Linked DNA regions of Homo sapiens: region 1 is linked to region 2. Evidence: promoter capture Hi-C in 16 types of primary human blood cells and fetal thymus (Javierre and others, 2016). All regions are on one chromosome and are shown on one strand. The core of a region is centred on a gene start or on the middle of the fragment in contact, and the rest is flanking DNA. Distances in the headings are between cores, read along the strand shown.

Region 1 (4,604 bases), core at 1,312-3,811, 530 kb after region 2:
AAGGGTGAGGGGATGGGAGTTGGTGGATGATGAGAAATTACTTAATTGGTACAATCTACATTATTCCAGTGATGGATACCCTAACATCCATCTGACATAGCCACTATGCAATCTGTGCATGTAACAAAGTTGCCCTTGTGTCCCATAAATTTATACAAATAAAAAATAAAATAAAAGGCAAATCTAAGCATGCTTTCTTTAAAAAGAAAAAAACAAATGGGTATCTGTAGTCCTGTGAAAAGTGTAATAGAGTAACAGGTTGCCCCCACGGGGAGGGCAATCTGTCCCCTCTGGCTGGTCCCCTCTACAGTCAGTGCCCTGGGAAATAGGCACCCCTTTCTGGCAGTGGCATTGGCAGAGCAACTACACTCTCCAATTTCTTATCAGCAGCCTTCCTCCTACACTATGGATATTCTTTGCCAGCCTTGCAAGGTGTAATGACCAGCTGTATTAAAAGGAAAGGATTTATGGTACAAACTGTTGTTAAGAAGAATTATCCCAAATGGAAAAAAAGCAGATTGGCTATTGCATGCCTTAACAAAGTCATACTAGAGCATTGCCTGATAAGTTCCCCCTCAGGATCAGCTGATGCTCTAGGGAGAGGTAGCTTTTTGGTTGACATACTACTTACTATTGATTAGAATCTGTCAGGAAAAATGGGAAAGACTTTGAAATGGACAAAGAAAGATTTCTGGATGTACTGTCTAGCTTATTCTTCCAGGCTATATGTGCCTTTCATTGTCTTTGAACTACTTTACAACTCTGCGCATTGTAGAAAACTGATAATAATCCAAATTACGCTTGTTCATGGAAATGCAAATAAAACTGTCCAGGCAATTTAATTGATCATTGCCTTATGGATATTGATATGTTTTGCATCAGTTTATATATTCATCTCAGTATTCCTGGTTACCAGTATATCTTTGTGTTCTTTAAATTCTCCTTTGAACTTCTTACGACATCTAATTTATTCCCTCACTAGTTAATTAGTTTATTTTGTATTTGTTCAAAAGTCATGGTTTTACCCTTAAAAAATTATCCTTTAACAGGCCCAAAGATTGTGTAAAGTTAGATATTAATTTTTAGAAGACAGACAAAATGCAAATATGATTTCTATTGGGTATAAATGATAACCCCAAAGGCTACAGTTTTATTCCCCTGTAGGAAGTGGTTAATCAATTTTGTATTTTAATTTGCAATCTTATTCCAGTGTTCTCTTTTAGATGAAGATATGTAGTCATTCATTTATTCATTTACCATTTCCTTTTGTCCTTGAACCTGTTGGTTCCCTCACTAGGGAATTAAATACATCTCTGACACATATTTGTTAAATATTTATATGAGACCATGTTTTTAACTTTTTTGAAAACTGTACTTGACGTTGTATAGCATTTGGCAAGCAATTCGAAGTGTGAACTAAAAAAACAAGTGTTACTTTAAAGCCTGACCGTAAGATTTCACTCCAGAGACAGCGCAATTTAAGCTAACCCCTAAGTAGGCATAATTGGCTATTAAGCAAAAGTCTCTGGGAATAAAAGTCAAAATGGTTTGGGATAAGATGATAAGATAAATTACTCAGGATGTTTAAAGCTTCGGGGTGCCTACAAGCTGAGAGGAAAAAGAAAGTCATCTAGAAATTCTTGAGAGAGGGCCCAGAAACATAGCAGGAGGCTAGAAGTGGGGTAAAGTGCTGGTTGGTGATGGCTCCTTGGTGCCAAGTAGAGGATAGGAGTTTTAAGGATGAGGTGTTCTAATATTACATTTTAAGTTGTTTGCTCTACTGGTCTGTGATGTAACCAACACACACACACACACACACACACACACACACACACACACACACAGCCATTGCCTATAGCATTCAGTAAAATCTATTATAAACAGATCCTTGACTTGGGAGCACTTGGATGGGGAAGGGAACAGGACCACTGAATTCAGAAATGAGTAGTCATGAACAGGGATGAATAACAGAGGGAGGTCAAGGATTCAGCAGAGGCCTAAGCACCAGAAAGGAGGGATGCTGGGCTTCCAAAATTATGTGGGCATTTTCACTTCAACCATACGATGCAAGCTGAAAGATTAGCAGACTTCCTCATGTTGACACTAGGGTTGTTCATGCAAATAGCATTGTTTCAGAACCAAATGTGTGGGAAAACTTTAAGAGTTCCACCCCACTGCACCAAAGGACTGAACCCTCTCTCCTTAGAGCTTAAAAGCACTTTTAGCATATTTAACTCCAACACTAAGGTGCATTATAAATATTTGTGTTTTATATGTGCTTATATGTGTATATGTGTACTAATGTGTGTGTGTGTGTGTGTGTGTGTGTGTTCCATAGTTTTTTCCTTTCCTGGACTAGGATATAAATTTCCCAAGGCAGAGACCACTTCTTCATTCATTTATCTTTCACTAGAGAATGTCATACAATGCCCTGAAGACACTCAATAAATGTTCGTTGAATGACTTACAAAGCCAGCCTTGACCTGGCTCATCTTCATTTCACTCCACCTCATCCCTAAGGACGAGAAACTCTAGTCTCTTTCTAGCGGGTCATAGACAACACCACATAATCCAGGCTGAAACTGCCTTGCTGGAAGCTCCCTAATTCTCTGGACTTGGTTTAATCTCACCTGGTAACAACTTATAAAATAGCTCAAAAAGTCAAGGGTCTCTTGCTTATCAATGCTCCTTCATTCTTTCTCTGATTCATTTTAGCCCATCTCTTGCTGTTACCGTGCCTTTATTCCTTTTCCTTTGCAAGAATTTTTAACACTTTTCTGTTCCTTTTGTCCTCATTATTCTGTTCCTTTTGTCCTCATTATATCCTCTCTGCTGTTATTTAGTTTTATCGTACATAATTTGTAGTCCGATGCAAAAATCCATCCCCCAAATCAACAGTCATTCATTCATTCAATCAGTCATTTATGCTGTATTTCTTCAGCACCTACTATGAATGTGTTGATAAAAAGAATAAAAATATAAACCTGGTCCCTGCTCTCATGGAATTTACAATATCATGAGGGATCTAAACATTAACTAATTAAATACACAAATCTGTGTATAATTGCAAACTGAACAAGAAGAAAGCAAAATTATTTTGTGGAGCTGACCTAGACCAGGGAATTCCCAGCAGTGGGAAGACTGTACTTAGGCCCTGCAGCAGGCAGGAGAAAGGAATGACTAAGGAACTGAACGGTTAATGTGGTGTGAACCTATAGAGCAAAACAACAAGGAAATATGGGCCAGATGTCGCTGAGTCTTACCATCATGCTAAGGATTAATATAAATGAGAAAGCTCAAATGCACTACAAAAGTAGTACAACTGCAACACTCATACAATTACTGAATGGCACTGCTTGCTTCAGAAGGAAGAGTTACTAGAGAGTAGAAATTCATCTCTGCATTTTTTTCTATGTAATTATGACAGATTTGCTTTCTTCCTTGTGTGAAAAAAGATTCTAGACAATTATTGGCTAACTTGCTCTGAAAGTACTCTGTTTTATTCTGGTATGTTTGAAATGCTCAGTAGGAAGAAAGCTTAAAACCCACTTACCACTTTTTAAGATTCAAATTGGCCTAGCATACTGTAAGATTATGGGCCCTAGCAAAATAGAGACTCCATACTGATTTCCTATTGATGAAGGAAGGGAAAGAAAATTAAACAAATTATTAACATCTTTACTAAGATAGTTTCTGTTTTCGTCCATTCAGGTTGTTATAACAATATACCTTAGACTGGGTAATTTATAAACAACAGAAATTTATTGTTCACAGTTCTGGAGGCTGAGAAGTTCAAGATCAAGGTGCCAGCAGATTCAGTATCTGGTGGAGGCCTGTTCCTCCTAAAGGGCACCTTACAGAGGCAAATGGGCTCCCTCTAGCCTCTCTTATAAGGGCACTAATCCCATCCATAAGGGCAGAGCCCTGATGACCTGATCACCTCCCAAAGGCCCCACCTCCTAATACTATCACATCGGGTATTAGATTCCAACATTTGAATTTGCAGGGGGTGGGGGGAACATTAACATTCAGACAATAGCAGTTTCTTTTGCTGATTGAAAGGTAATTATAACAAGATGAAATATGAACATTTTATATACATAGCATGACTTTGGTATGGTTTAGTGAAAACTCTAAGTGGGAGAGGAACAAATCCACATTCCCTGGTGACTTGGTCTGGACTAGGGAGGATCAATCTTTGTAATGTCACCCTTTTACCTATAAAGATGTGTCAGGAAGGAAATCTTAGCTAAAAATTCTTGATCATGTTTAAAATTTTTTTAATTTCACAGCTTCTACTGATTTTTTCTGCTGCTGGGGAGTCAACACTTGGTGTTGGAGGCTATTTTATTTATAGCAACACCTGGCTATGCAAAGTGTAACCCTAGAACCTACATGTGAGAAACAAAATTGTTCTGATTAATAAAGTAAAAGTCTGTGTACTAGTCTGTTCTCATGCTGCTAATAAAGACTTACCCAAGACTGGGTAATTTATAAAAGAAAGAGGCTTAATTGACTCACAGTTCAGCATGGCTGGGGAGGCCTCAGGAAACTTATAATCATAGCGGCAAGAAGAAGAAAAATGAGAGCCGAGCGAAGGGGGA
Region 2 (4,589 bases), core at 1,174-3,673:
GTGCACGTTGTCTGGCAGGCTTGCCTGGCAGAAGCGGTTCATGACAGGTCTTCTCCATTTTGGAATCAAGATCTGTGTCAGCATGGATGGCAAGGGGAAGAGTAAGGAAAGATTGGTCTAGGAGATGCCCAGGAGCTTTTGGCCTCACAGTGCAGGGTGGGGAGAGCAGACCTGGCCACCAAGGACCAGTTTCTGGGCTTGGGCAGAAGCCAATCATCTGGCTACTTTACAAGCAGATGGAGCTTCTTCCTCTCAGTAACCTTCCTGCCCTGGTGTCAATTCCATTTTCATTTTCATCTTTTATGGTACTGGTTGTGTGGAGAAAACTGAAGGCTCATTTGGTATAAGTAAGTAACTCATTTTTATGAGTTTGCTTGACATAGATACTAGACTGTATGTGTGTATATATACATATAAACATGCATATGTACATAAAAAATATATATATATCATATATACATGATGATACACACACACACACACACACACACACACACACATATATATATATACGTATACAAGCATGCTTTACAAGGCCAATTGACTGGTCTACAATTGGCTGACACTTGGTGGCCTAGAAGCCAGGGTATGTGAGTCTCGCTTTTCTAGAAAGCTGACAAACTCTCCAGTTCCAAGGATCCTTGCTCAGTCAACGGCTGGAAGTCATTTTTACTTCGCTGTTTTTTGTTTGTTTGTTTGTTTGTTTTTTTAGACAAAGTCTCATTCTGTCACCCAGGCTAGAGTGCAGTGGCACTATCATGGCTCACTGCAATCTCCACCTCCTGGGCTCAAGCGATCCTCCCACCTCAGCCACCCGAGTAACTGGGACTACAGGTGCACACCACCATGCCTGGCTAATTTTTGTATTTTTTTAGAGACAAGGTTTTGCCATGTTGCCCGGGTTGGTCTCAAACCCCTGAGCACAAGTGATCCTCCTGCCTCGGCCTCTACAAAGTGCTGGAATTACAGGTGTGAGCCACTGCACTCGATCCATTCTTACTTACTTTCTTTACTTTATTTCCAAGCAAATGTTTGGAGGGAAACCAAGAGACTTGGATGCGGCCAGCCGAGGCCTTTGGGTTTACAATCACAAATGTTTTTGGTTTGCCCATGAAGGCCCAGGCTGCACTCTCTGATGTCACAGGAATCACCTCTCAAACCATGCACCAGGTCTTGAATTCCCTTAGGGTGTGATCTTTAGAGGTCCATCTAGGTATACCCACCCAAGCCATTCTTTGACTGCTGACAGGCCTTCCTTCATAACAAGGTGTTCCACAGTCCATTTATATATGGATGTCATCTCTGCCCACCCTGCTGCCAATTTGGTTTTCTCCCACTCCTGGGGTGTAAGGCAAGATGAAACATATCACATCCCGTTCTAAACTTTATTCTTGTGGCCAGGGGTCAGCAAACTTTTTCTGTAAAGGGCCAGATGGCAAATATCTTAGGTTTTACAGGCCAAGAAGCAAATTTGGCATATTATGTAGCTACTTATATAGTAAAATAAAAATTTCCACAATTATGTAATTGATGAAACTCAAAATGTAATAATAATAATCGAAGGCAGTTTTTTTGTAGTATAGGTTTAATAATGAGAAGAATGGAATCATTTTTGGAGGTGCTAACATTCTGCTTGGTTGGAATTTAAAGTTAGTGTTCTGTATCAGCAAATCCATTGCCAATGTTCATCTAAAAATGTTTTCACTTCTGGGCCGGATTTCGTTCAAAGGCTGCAGTTTGCTGACCTCTGCTCTTGGTTACACCTTTTGAGGCCCTTGCTCTCCGAGCATAAAATGGAATCCATTTATCAGACTAAATCGGGAAGATTAAATTTTCCAGCCTCACGAATGCTCAGCCATTGACTCACTCGTTCATACAATGAACACTCATTGAGCTTATACTACATGCCAGGTGCTGGAGGAGGCATGGGGCGCCCAGGAGAAAGATGCTCGCTTTGCGGCCACAGCCCAGTGGGAGGGAGACCCATACCTACCGGTGCTGTCTCAGAAACTTGTGGAACAAAGATGAAGCAATGTTCATGTTATTCGCCTACATCTGTGAATTACACAAGGAAGACGAGTTTGAGAAATCCGAAGTTCAGTACAAATTTATGGTAACTTTTTTAAAAAAGAATACACTGAAGTTTTCTTAGTGAATGGAATAATGTTCCCTTTTTCTCCCCTGTACACACAAATACACAAAAACTAACAAAAATACGTCGTGTGTGTCTGATTTGGGTTGTATTTAAATCATTTCATAAATGACTTTTTCCCATAACTTCAGTTTCAAAGTTTTAAAGCACAGTCAATTAATGATTTGGCAACAGCTAAGAAATCACAAGTTCCCTTCTTTTCATGTAAACTTCTGTAAAACACACGCTACGTTCTGCTGATGGTAAATAGAGCCATTTCAGGAAGTTAGCCAGTTTCTCTTCTCGGCCACCTCCTGCATAGAGGGTACCATTCTGCGCTGCTGCAAGTTACGGAATGAAAAATTAGAACAACAGAAACATGGTAAGCCACTTCTATTTCTTTAGCAAAGCTTTCCAACAGAATATGGGGTTTCTGACCCAGAAATCTGGGTTGGTGGCAAATGGTGTGAGCCTAGAAAGTAATAAATGGGCAAATAAGGATAAAAATTAAAGATCGAAACAACTGTAAATGCAGGTAAAGCGGCTTGCTATGATCTTTAATTTGTGCACACGTTAGTATAAAGGAATTAGAGAGTAAATTTTGAAAATCAAATGCAGTGATGATCTTACTAATTTGGACAGGAAAATAAGAAAATTTCAAGTTAGAAATTGAACTGGAAATATTACTTACTGGCCCTACCAGAGACAATATCCTCTTCCAGAACAACAGGGTTGGAAGAGAAGGTGAGGGAAATATTCTTCCTTTGCTATTTCTGTAGAAAAGGACAAACTCTCTTCCTTCACATACATAGGTCAATTGCTAGATCCTAGTGAAGCCTGAGCTTAACCTACTGTTGGAGGCTTAAAGTTCGACATTAATTGCTACTTTTCTTGGTCAGAGTTTTAAATAATTAGGTTGGTACAAAAAACTGTGATTACTTTTCCACCAACCTAATAACATGCTACAATTTCTGTAATTATTATTTTACACTGTCAAGACATAGCAGGTGGTCCGTTTTTGTTATTGTCAAGAACTGTCAGACTAAAAATGAACTTTACACTTCTTTTTAAATGATACATTTTCTAGAAAATTCAATGAGGTTTAAGAGCAATTGAAAAGTCTGATTTCAAGAGAGTCTCATCCAAAATGTACTATATATTTTTCCCCAAAGTCCTTGGAGTTAATTTTGACAACAATTTAAAGTACACTTAAGTCTTTTGAAGTTAATGGGTCTGCCACCCAGGTTGGAGTGCAGTGGCGTGATCTCAGCTCACTGCAACCTCCGCCTCCCGGGTTCAAGCGATTCTCCTGCCTCAACCTCCCAAGTAGCTGGGACTACAGGTGTGTGCCACCACGCCTGGCTAATTTTTGTATTTTTAGTAGAGACGGGGTTTCTCCATGTTGGCCAGGCTGGTCTCGAACTCCTGACCTCAGGTGATCCGCCTGTCTCAGCCTCCCAAAGTGCTGGGATTACAGGCATGAGCCACCGCGCCCGGCCTGAAGTTAATTTTTATACCCACCTAATGTTCATTATGGATCTTGAAGGTAAATTAATTCTGCACTAAAATTTTACAATGCTTTACAAAATGACTGTAGGTGGCCCATATGGAATTCGGTCAACTGGGCCAATGACACATATGGGATTGCAGTTGAAATTATCCAATTCCTACTTGATATTTGTAAGCTGCTGTGATAGCCAGTATAATTGTACTGTAAGAATGTGGTAAATAGCCGGGGCCCGGTGGCTCACGCCTATAATCCCAGCACTTTGGGAAGCCGACGTGGGCGGATCACTTGAGGTCAGTAGGTAGAGACCAGCCCGGTCAACACGGCAAAACCTCGTCTCTACTAAAAATACAAAAATTAGCCAGGTGTGGTGGTACGCACCTGTAGTCCCAGCTACTCAGGAGGCTGAGGCAGGAGAATCGCTTGAGCCCATGAGGTGGATGTTGCAGTGAGCAAAGATCGCACCATTGTACTCCAGCCTGGGCAACGGAGTAAGACTCTGTTTCAAAACAACAACAACAACAACAACAACAGATTGGTAAATAGAGTAATAATAAAATCAAATTAAACTTGCAAAAAATGGCCACTTTGCTCCCACTGGTGGCCAATGGAGGTCAAGGACCTGGCTGACCTCCTGCCTAAAGGCAGAGGTTGTTAGCCTTCGCAATGGACTCAAATCAGAGGGGGAGCTTTCAAAACTCCTGCTGCCCAGACTGAACCCCAGATCAATGAAACCAAAATCTCTGGATACAGGGCTTGGCATTTGTAGCTTTTAGAGTTCCTAAGTATCTCTACTGTGCAGCCAAAGTTAAGAATCAGTGCCTTAGAACATCAACAGTTTTTTGGTCCTTTTGTTAAAAAGCACAGTCCGTTTTTTTAGGTGGCTAGAAATGCTCCAGGAAGAGCTGAAATGTATTTACCAGCCACCTTGGTTTGATTTTAGAAAGCAAA

What was found. Contacts are between HindIII fragments. The CHiCAGO score rates a contact against its expected background, and 5 or more counts as called.
Region 1: a contact is called between a fragment that was not itself captured here and the fragment with the promoter of TLR8 in region 2, in 4 of 17 cell types (naive CD8 T cells, non-activated CD4 T cells, naive CD4 T cells and 1 more). The highest score is 8.5, in naive CD8 T cells.

Annotation. Positions count from the first base shown.
Region 1 is chrX:13,437,171-13,441,774 of GRCh38, forward strand. No RefSeq gene overlaps it. Among named protein-coding and RNA genes, the nearest start is that of LINC01203, 100 kb to the left of the region's middle. The HindIII fragment of the contact is 1,947 bases long and covers 1,589-3,535 here.
Region 2 is chrX:12,904,197-12,908,785 of GRCh38, forward strand. It overlaps TLR8 (toll like receptor 8), which reads left to right and starts at 2,424. Exons shown (of 2, transcript NM_138636.5): 1 at 2,424-2,513. The coding sequence starts at 2,511. It overlaps TLR8-AS1 (TLR8 antisense RNA 1), which reads right to left. Exons shown (of 5, transcript NR_030727.1): 3 at 4,020-4,137; 4 at 1,994-2,055. The HindIII fragment of the contact is 3,594 bases long and covers 1-2,539 here.